3 separate regions of the Homo sapiens genome follow, and all the other regions are linked to region 3. Evidence: promoter capture Hi-C in human tissues and cell types (Jung and others, 2019). All regions are on one chromosome and are shown on one strand. The core of a region is centred on a gene start or on the middle of the fragment in contact, and the rest is flanking DNA. Distances in the headings are between cores, read along the strand shown.

The links. The method cuts DNA at HindIII sites, captures the fragments that hold promoters and counts their contacts. A contact is called where the count stands out against the background at its distance.
Region 1: a fragment that was not itself captured here is called in contact with the fragment with the promoter of ST20-MTHFS in region 3 in 2 of the 25 tissues and cell types used here (bladder and mesenchymal stem cells).
Region 2: a contact is called between a fragment that was not itself captured here and the fragment with the promoter of ST20-MTHFS in region 3, in 3 of the 25 tissues and cell types used here (lymphoblastoid cells, mesenchymal stem cells and mesendoderm cells).

Annotation. Positions count from the first base shown.
Region 1 is chr15:79,344,651-79,348,028 of GRCh38, reverse strand. It overlaps a transcript of TMED3 not described here. Among named protein-coding and RNA genes, the nearest start is that of TMED3, 35 kb to the right of the region's middle. The HindIII fragment of the contact is 4,778 bases long and covers 1-3,378 here.
Region 2 is chr15:79,382,591-79,385,987 of GRCh38, reverse strand. It overlaps a transcript of TMED3 not described here. Among named protein-coding and RNA genes, the nearest start is that of MINAR1, 48 kb to the left of the region's middle. The HindIII fragment of the contact is 3,235 bases long and covers 346-3,397 here.
Region 3 is chr15:79,920,733-79,924,384 of GRCh38, reverse strand. ST20-MTHFS (ST20-MTHFS readthrough) reads left to right here and starts at 1,293. Exons shown (of 4, transcript NM_001199760.2): 1 at 1,293-1,346. It overlaps ST20 (suppressor of tumorigenicity 20), which reads left to right and starts at 633. Exons shown (of 3, transcript NR_037653.2): 1 at 633-933. It overlaps ST20-AS1 (ST20 antisense RNA 1), which reads right to left and starts at 1,614. Exons shown (of 1, transcript NR_028330.1): 1 at 1-1,614. RefSeq lists enhancers at 1-54, 256-305, 736-915 and silencers at 446-595, 1,216-1,265, 1,276-1,345, 1,366-1,475. The HindIII fragment of the contact is 9,290 bases long and covers 1-3,652 here.

The sequences.
Region 1 (3,378 bases), core at 636-3,135, 580 kb after region 3:
ATCTATGACTGGGCATCATTCTCCACACTTTGGACAATCTAGTGTTTTTTCAAACATTTTGATCTGGGTAAAATCAGCTATTTTTGTTAACTTTCAAAATGATATGCTTTTTTGGGTATAAGAGTTTTTTCCCTTTTTCTGTGTCATCTCTGATTTCTTTGAGCAGTGTTTTGTAGTTATCCTTGTAGAGATCTTTTACCTCCCTGGCTAGCTGTATTCCTAGGTATTTATTCTTTTTGTGGCAACTGTGAATGAGATTGCATTCCTGGATTTGCCTCTCAGCTTGACTGTTGTTGGCGTATAAGAATGTTAGTAATTTTTGCACATTGATTTTGTATGCTGAGACTACGCTGAAGTTCTTTATTAGTATAAGGGGCTTTTGAGGTGAGACTATGGGGATGTTTAGATATAGTATCATGTCATCTGCAAACAAGGATAGTTTGACTTCCTCCCTTCTTATTTGGATGCACTTTATTTCTTTCCCTTGCCTGATTGCCCTGGCCGTGACTTCCAATACAATGTTGAATAGGAGTGGTGACAGAGGGCAGCCTCGTCTTGTGCCAGTTTTCACAAAGAATCCTTCCATCTTCTGCCCATTAAGTATAATGTTGGCTGTGGGTTTGTCATAGATGGCTCTTATTATTTTGAGGTATTTTCCTTCAATACCTAGTTTACTAAGAGTTTTTAACATGAAGCAGTGTTGAATTTTATTGAAAGCCTTTTCTGCATCTCTTGAGATAATCATGTGGGTTTTTTGTCTTTAGTTCTGTTTATGTAATGAATCATGTTTATTGATTTGCATATGTTGAACAAACCTTGCATCCTAGGGGTAAAGCCTACTTGATCATGGTGGGTAAGCTTTTTGATGTGCTGCTGGATTCAGTTTGCCAGTATTTTGTTGAGGATTTTTGCACTGATGTTCATCTAGGAAATTGACCTGAAGTTTTCTTTATCTGTTGTGTCTCTGCCGTGTTTTGGTATCAGGATGATGTTGGCCTCAGAATGAATTAGGAAGGAGTCCCTCCTCCTTAAATTTTTGGAGTAGTTTTAGCAGAAATGCTACCAGATCGTCTTTGTACATCTGGTAGAATTCAGCTGTGGAATACTTCTGGTCCTGGGCTTTTTTGGTTAGTAGGCTATTTATTACTGGCTCAATTTCAGAGCTCATTATTGATGATGTTTCAAGTAAGGCCACACACATACAACTATCAGGTCTTCTACAAACCTGATAAAAACAAGCAATGAGGAAAGGATTCCCCATTCAATAAATGGTGCTGGGAGAATTCGCTAGCCATAGGCAGGAGATTGAAACTGGACCCCTTCCTTACACCATATACAAAAATCAATTCAAGATGGAATAAAGACTTAAATGGAAAACCCAAAACTATAAAAACCTGATTAGTTTGTTCTCATGCTGCTAATAAGGATGTACTCAAGACTGGGTAATTTATAAAGAAAAAGAGGTTTAATGAACTCACAGTTCCCATGGCTCAGGAGGCCTCACAATCATGGTGGAAGGTGAAAGAGGAGCAAAGGCACATATATATGGTGGCAGGTAAGAGAGCATGTGCAGGGGTACTGCCCTTTATAAAACCATCAGATCTTGTGAGACTTATTCACTATCATGAGAACAGGATGGTGGGAATAGCCCCCATGATTCAATTATGTCCACCTGGTCCCTCCCACGACACATGGGAATTATGGGATCTACAATTTAAAATGAGATTTGGGTGGGGACACAAAGTCTAACCATATCAAAACCCTATAAGACAACCTAGGCAATACCATTCTGGACATAGGAACAGGCAAAACTTCATGACAAAGACACCAAAAGCAATTGTAACAAAAGCAAAAACTGACAAATGGGATCTAATTAAACTAAAGAGCTTCTGCACAGCAGAGGAAACTATCAACAGAGTGAAGAGCCAACCTACAGAATGGGAGAAAATTTTTGCAAACTATGCATCTGACAAAGGTCTAACTCCAGCATCTATAAAGAACTTAAACAAATTTACAAGAAAAAATACAAACAACTCCATTAAGAAGCGGGAAAATGACATAAACAGATACTTTTCAAAAGAAGGCATACACGTGGCCAACAATCTTATAAAAAAGAGCTCAACATCACTGATGATTACAGAAATGCAAATCAAAACCATGAGAAGATGTCATCTTACACCAGTCAGAATGGCTATTAGTAAAAGGGAAAAAATAACAGATGCTAGTGAGGTTGTGGAGAAAAAGGAATGCTTATACACTGGTGGTGGGAATGTAAATTAGTTCAACCATTGTGGAAGACAGTGTGATGATTCCTCAAAGACCTATAAGCAGAAATATTATTTGACCCAGCAATCCCACTACTGGGCATATACCCAAAGGAATATAAATTGTTTCGTTATAAAGACACATGTATGTGTATATTCATTGCAGCACTACTCACAATAGCAAAGACATGGAATCAACAACCTAAATGCCCACCAATAATAGACTGGATAAAGAAAATGTGGTACATATAAACCATGGAATACTATGCAGCCAGAAAAAGAACAAGATCATGTCATTTGCAGGAACACGGATGGAGCTGGAGGTCATTATCCTTAGCAAACTAATGCAGAAACAGAAAACCAAATACTGCATGTTCTCACTTATAAGTGAGAGCTAAATGATGAGAACACATGGACACATAAAGGGGAACAACACACTATGGCCTATCAGAGGGTGAAGGGTGGGAAGGGAGAGGATCAGGAAAAATAACTAATGGGTACTAGGCTTAATATCTGGGTGATGAAATAATCTGTACAACAAACCCCCATGACACCAGTGTACCTATGTAACAAACCTGCACATGTACCCCTGAACTTAAAAGTTAATAAAAAATAAAGTAAATAAATTTTTAAAAAGAGCTTTCTATTTTTCTTCCCTGTCTGGATCTTTGGCCCAGTCTTTCTATTGAGTTGGTGGTCCTCTTCTTCCTGATTGGTAGCTCTCTATATTTATATGTCTTTCATTGTCCCCCTGTTTTCTCTCTTTCTGTGAGCATTTCCATTAAATTCCCATATGCTGCTCTGTCTCTCAAATTATAAAACAAAAACAGTCTCTTCCACATCTCCTTCCGGCTACTGCTCAAACACAGCAAAGCTTTAAAGTTAAACTCCTATAAAACATTGTCTCCCTTTCACACTGCCTCATCTCACTGGGCTCACTACAGTGAAGTCTTTGCCTCCAATGTTTCGTACAAATTACTCTTGTTAAGTCACCAACGATCTCGACCTTGCCAGATCCAAAGTTCAGTTACCAGTTCTCTTCTTGCTGGCCCTCTGGGTTGAATGAGGTTCCCCCAAATTCATGTCTTCCTGGAACCTGGGAATGTGACCTTAA
Region 2 (3,397 bases), core at 714-3,213, 540 kb after region 3:
CATGGGGGTTAAATGAAGACTGTGGATTCTGGTGGACCTGGGCTGAAATCCAACAGTTGTTTTATCATTTGTAAAATCAAGATAATAAATAGTACCTAATGATGGCAGAGGCTGCTGCTATCACACTGGCTGCGGCTGGCACTGCACACTCCATGAAGCCAGTGGGAGCTCTGCCCCTTCTAAGTTGGGGGTTCAGCTCCCCAGGTGCCACTGTAGCTACCCAAAGTGTGGCTGCAGACCCAGGCCTCCCGCTCTAGGGAGCAGAATGGACCCCTGCCCAAACTGTGGCTGTGGATCTGAGCCTACCTGTGCTCTTCGAGGTTGCCAGGAACAGGCAGGATCTGCCCTCTTGGGTGCAGCTGCAGGCACCCAACCAGTGACTGCAGACCTGGGCCTTCCACTCCAGGGAGCAGGCAGGAGCCAGAGACAAGCAGGAGTCCTGCTCCTTCCAGCAGGGTGGGATGGGAACTCCCCAGGTGCAGCTGCAGCCACCTTCCCAGGTGCAGCACCTCACAAAGTAAGATCCACTGGCTTGACATTCCAGCCAGCCACCGGCAACTGGGTGGAGCCTGCTTGAGATGGGATGGAGCCCCAAGAATTTGTGAGGTGCTGTGGAAGTGGGACCCACAGAATCAGCTCCCTGGATTCTGCCCCCCTTCCTAGGGGTAGGTGCGGACCTCTCACCTTGCCTGAGTTAGACACATCTGATGGGGATCCCAGGGCCAGAGTATATAAAGCTGCTGGGTCTCTGTGCATGCCTGAGCAGTTACTCTGCCAAGACTCCACACAGTTCTGTGTGTCAGCCCCAGGGCCTGGTGGTGTGGGCTCACAAGGGCATCTCTTGATCCACAGGTTGCAAAGATCCGTGGGAGAAGCATGTTTTTCCAGGGTCACACAATCACTCACCACTTCCCTTAGCTCTGTGTCACTCCCAGGTGGGCCATCACCCAACCTTGCTCTTCTTCATTCTCCATGGTTAAGTTGTTTCCCTAATCAGTCCCAATGTGAGAACCTGGATATTTCAGTTGAAGGTGCTGTATTCACTCACGCCTTTCATTCCTCTCCGTGAATGCCACGGACTGCAGCTGCTTCTAATTGGCCATCTTCGCCCCTCTGCTGTTCATTTCTTATACAGATGAGGTCTCACTATGTTACCCAGGTTGGTCTCAAACTCCTGGGCTCGAGCGATTCTCCCACCTCGGCCACCCAAAGTGCTGGGATTACAAGCATGAGCCACCACACCCAGACTGGGTTTTTAAAAATATGTTTTATAAGGTAAAGGTCAAATTTTATTTGATTTTTCTATATGGCTACCCAATTATCTGCTATTATATCCTACCTTCTTCCTACAATCTCATCACCTACTTGAGTATACACATGGTAGACAAGAGGGGAACTTTTTGAGTTTGATTTCTCTTTGTCCCACCAGCTATACTGCCAGGGAATCACAGCATAGTCTGTGCCTCTTGGCATCGCATATGAAGCCCTTCCCTATCTAGCCCTTGCACCATTTCCAGCCTCATGTCTGACCAATAGACTCCCCCAGCTGCATAAGGCCCCTCATCATTCCCAGATGTGCCACACTCTTTCCTATTCCGACAATGATGTATATATCTTTGCCTTTACTTGTGGCATTTACACGTCTACTCATTTTTCAAGATCCTACTCAAATATTACCTCTTCCAAGAAAACTATACGAATATCCCACACTACTATTTATTTCTACCCTGTTCAGAATCCCTCCTATCCTTCAAGTCCTTTGTTTAGTATTAATCACTGCCTCGAGAGAGTTCTGGAGGTTTTGGACTGTTGAAGGAAAGGGAAGATGTACCTTATTGGGTACCTGTGACCTTGCCAATGTTTGAGAAGAAGCTTTTAGAACCTCTGAGCCAGCTCAGGTCACACCACCATCTCCATAGGAACACTGAATTTCCTCCCACAGTTTTGCTTGATGGAACATCCAGGAGCTCTTTGATGATGGGAGGTAGGTTTCTCCGATCTCTTCTCTGGGCTGAATCATGCCCCAGAAATAGGGCCATGAATTATTGGGGTCTTAGAGCTTATGCAGTAAAGGATTAACCCAAAGAAAGTTTTGGCTCTTTACCCCCAGTTTCTGGAAGGTAACATTTAAGCCCTTGGAATGTCCTGGCTTTCAAAAGTGTCTTTATAAACCTAGGACCTTGGGCCATGCCAGATAGTCTGTACTAACCATAAGATTTATGGTGAGGTCCTTGGACAACACAACATCAGCTTTATCTCTGGAGGGGCTAGAGATCAAAGTCAGTCGTATGGTGGCTAGCCATATCTATGTGACTGATTCCTCAATAAAATCTCTGGACACTGAGACTCAAGTGAACTTCCCTAGTTGGCAATACCCTAGGCATATTGTCACACATCGTTGCGGGGAGAGATAAGTGCAGTCTGTATGACTTCACTGGGGAGCGACAAGTGGGAAGCTCCATTCCTGGTCTCTCCTAGACTTTACCTTTTGTACCTTTTCTTATTGTTGATTTTCAAATGTATTCTTCTGCTCTAACAAACTGTAACCATGGGTAAATTGGCTTGCTGAGTTCTGTGACTTCATCTAGTGAAACTCTGAACCTGAGGATGGTGTGAGGGACCTTCCAAACTTTCAGAGCTTCTACTCAATACATTTCTTTTCTCCATCTAAGGGCACAAAGGATCAAATAGATATAATCTTCAACAGCCTTAAGACATTTTCCAAAACAAGATAGCAAAGGCAGCCACATTGGAAATCGGGTAGCTGGATGGTCCCTGAAGATCAATGACTATACTGATTACCACGTAAGCAATAACTGGTGCAGGTGAGAGTGGACAAGGCAGGAAGTGAAGTGCACCATGGCAGTAAAGCTGTGGGTACCTGGCGATCTACAGGCAAAGAGCCATGTCCCGTGGAGCATGCACAGGAGGTAAACAAGCAGTTGGAACAGGTAGATCCCAGATGGTGATCACACTGGAACCCTTAGTGGTGGCGTTGGTGTTGGTGAAGCACTGGGACCCTTGGAAAAGAAATAAATCGTGTTTATGCCCTTGTAATTGACTTTGTCAATGGGAATAAAGACTATATTGTGTTGGTAAGAACAATAGTATGAGATACCCATGAAAGATAATATAAAAGAAGCTTCCCTGCACCTATATCTGAAAACACTACTTCACAAGTAGATGATCTGATTGAAATTCAGGATGAGGAGTGGCAGGAAGGATAGGTGGCTGAAAAAGCCATTAGCCATACTGGTAGAAGTTCAGAGTGAAGTGGAGGACATAGAGAAAGGGATTAAGGTTTCCAGCCAGGAGTTTAGAGGGTAGAGGTAGTGAACTTCTGAGCCAAAGGAGCTGAGCACCCAGAAGAATTGTGAAGGGCAGACACAGCTTCTGG
Region 3 (3,652 bases), core at 44-2,543:
CCAGCCTCGGTGACAAAATATAATAATAATAAAATTAAAAAGGGCTTAGCATAGTATCTGGCCAGTAAGAAGAAATTATGATTATTATTTTGACCTTAGACCTCTCTTAACTGTCTGAAATTCGGGTTTCTTAAAGGACACAGGCGGTCTCTGAGGCTCCCGCCAGCGGAAACAATCTCCCATTAAAATAGGCATCGGTTAAATATTTGCTGAACAAAGTAAACTACGTCTCCCCGAATCCCATTGAGCGCCTACTCGAGATCCGGACCGGAGCCGGGCAGGACGGGCCCGTCGGTCCCACACGCCGTATAAGTGGGTGGAGAATACCCCACACGCCCAGACCAATAGGCGGGGTGAACGAGGACCGTGTTCACCAACTCAGCCCGGCTCGCGGAATGCCTTCTGTTCGCCTCCGGGCTTGCAGTGGCTTTCCGTCGCAGGTCAGGCCGCGTTCCACTTCCGCCGGCAGTCCAGACACGCCCCTCCGGGTCCAATCCCCGCCCCTCACACACCTGGCCCCGCCCCGTCGGGAGCTCGGCGGTCCTCTCTGCGCTAGGTCTTCTTAGCGCCCGACGGGGCCACGCCCATCCCCGACGCTCTGAGGTCACCTACAGGGCCGACCCTCGGTGGGCGGAGGGACGGAGGGAAGATGGCTGCAGAGACCGGATATTGGCGCTGCCTCCCCGAATCCCGGACCTGCGCTGAGGAGGCGGTTCATCTGTGGCCAGCGGTGCTTCGGGACCCGCGCTGGGGGAACCCTGGCGACGGGGCCTGGCCCTGCTATATGCGGGGGCCTCGGCTGGAGTGAGCGGCGTGGACGCCTCTTTCCTCCGGCTCTTCCCTTGTTGCTGCGAGAGCGAGAGGGCCGCGGGCGGCGGAGGCAGCGGGGCCGGGATGGAGGACGTTAACTCTAACGTGAACGCGGACCAGGAGGTGCGGAAGCTGCAGGTGCCGGTGAAGAAGCTGGGGAAGCAGCACGAACAGCCGAGGAGCCGCTCGCGCTGTGCTGGGCCCCGGCTCCATCGCGGTTCGCCGGCTCCTCCACTCCCTCCTACGGCGCGGGGTCCCCTCGGGGCTTCCCCTTGGGTCTCAGCGCAAAGTCGGGCGGCGGGGCCGGATGGACCCGAGGCGGACGAATAACGAGGAGCTGCGAGACGCCACCTTCTTGCTGGCGGCGGGGGAGGGCGGCTTGCTAGACGACCTGGAGCGTCTGTCAGGCTAGGAGGAGGGGGAGGAGAGCTGGTGAGCGCCGGGCGCCGGGCGGGGCTGGGCGGGGACGCCCCGGTGGCGGAGGACGTCCCGGAGGATCCCTCTGGTCGGGCGCCTGGCTTTGTGTAGCCAGCCAGGTCCGCTCTCGGCGGGTACTCGTGGTCTTGCTCTGGCAGAGGGGAGGTCAGTTGGAGTTGGGGGTTCGAGGCTTGCAAGTACAGGGCTTGTAGCTCCTTCTCTGGATTGTGGACCCTCTGGGTGCTGGGCCCTATTGGGGTTGGTGGGTTGGTTGGATCCAGAAGGGCTGTTCGCCGTGGGGAGGAGTCGGAGGTGGGAAACTGCTTTGTAGGCAGGGATTCTGCTTTGTATAGGAGACCAGCTTTCGGATGCTGGTCTGGGCATTTTGGATGTTGGGGAGGGGTTTGGCTTGATGAGGTATCACCAAGTTCGGGGGGTGCAGACCAAAGTCGCCGACGTCTATGCAGCGGTTGGTGTTTGGGATCAATTTCTAGCGTGGATGGGGAGACCATGTGGATCAGCACTCCCCTTTAGGTAGTGGGGTAAAGCTTGCTCTGTGTGAAGAGGTCAGAGGATGGTGGTGTTTTGTGTGAAGAATCAAGGGTGAAACAAGAGCCCTGGCTCTGATATTTTAAAACAAGAATTGAGTCTGGCATTTTGCAGAGCTCTGAATTGACATTTATCACATCTATCCTTCATTTCCATGTCCTCCTATGGGCAGAAAAGAGTCCTATTTTAATACCTAAACCAAAGCTGTATTGTCATAAGCCACTTCTTGATGAAATTGTGACACACACCTTAATATCACTTTCATAAATAGGAAATGGGAGGCTTTTCTCCTCATTTTATTATAAAGATGTCTGTGGGAAATTCTCTTAATTCATCCTCTTTAAAATTTTACCTTTTAGCTAAAATGTCTCTGTTGAAATTCAAATTTCTAACTTAGTGAAATCGAAATCATTCATAGACTGTAGTATTGCAGGGCTCGAACTGTGCAGTGTTCTGAGGTAGTTAAGAGCTTTGCTGGATTCAGGCCCTGGGTTTGCCCAGGCCTGTATGACCTTGAGCAAGTTATTCTGAGCTTCACTTTCTTCCTCTATGATGGAGAAAATAATGATAGCACTTACCTCTATAGAGTTATGAAAATTTAGTAAGATAATCCATGTATGCATTTAGCACTGTTGAGATCTTGGCTTACTGCAAGCTCCGCCTCCTGGGTTCACACCGTTCTCCTGCCTCAGCCTCCCGAGTAGTTGGGACTACAGGCACTGGCCACCACTCCCTGCTAATTTTTTGTTTTCGTATTTTTAGAAGAGACGGGTTTCACCGTGTTAGCCAGGATGGCCTCGATCTGACCTCGTGATCCTCCCGCCTCGGCCTTCCAAAGAGCTGGGATTACAGGCATGAGCCACCATGCCCAGCCTATTACTCTTAAGCCTAGTTATTTAAATCAAACATTTAGTGAGCTCTTACATGATGTTATAGGAGACTCTGAAGATTCTCAACTGTTGATTCCTGTTCATAAGGCAGTTATAGTCTTGTTGAGAACTAAGTTTTATGCAGATAAATAAACTAGAAAGTGTATGGTGAATTGCCGAAAGAGAGAACAAAAGTACTGTCAGTGCGCAGTAACTGGGAAGAAAACAGTAGTCCAAAGTAGAGGGGCCAAACTTTGAGGAGGAGGCTTTGGAGTCTGGAAGTGAGGAAAGAGTGGGAAGGGCATTTTATGCTCTGACAGCTACAAGAGCAGAGTCAGAGATATTTGTAACTCCCAGTTAGGAGATTTGAATAACAGAAGTACTCTTGAGTATATGGTGACAAACCTTTATTTTTTATTTACTATTTTTTTTTTTTTTTGAGACGGAGTCTCGCTCTGTTGCCCTGGCTGGAGTGCAGTGGCATGATCTCAGCTCACTGCAACCTCCGCCTCCCAGGTTCAAGCAATTCTTCTGCCCCAGCCTCCCAAGTAGCTGGGACTGCAGGTGCCCACCCCCATGCCCAGCTAATTTTTGTGTTTTTAGTAGAGATGGAGTTTCACCATACTGGCCAGGCTGGTCTCGAACTCCAGACCTCGTGATCTGCCCGCCTTGGCCTCCCAAAGTGCTGCGTGAGCCACCGCACCCAGCCGACAAACCTTTATTACCAGGTGATATCAAATATTATTAGAGCTGACTGTGGTAGTGACAGTTTTTCATATAAATGAAATTGCATCCTCCCAAAGGAATCCTGAGTATGTATGCACTTTAAAAGAACCCAGAATCATCTAAATATTGTCACATGGCTCTTGCAAGTGATGATAATAGTGATGCTTATAATAATGAGGATTAGCTGCACTCATCAGCCTGTAGAAAGTAAAAAGTTTCCTTTTCGAAATTTCCTTTCTTGTTAAAGAATAAATCATAAGTGTTAGAAATAATAGTTTCTT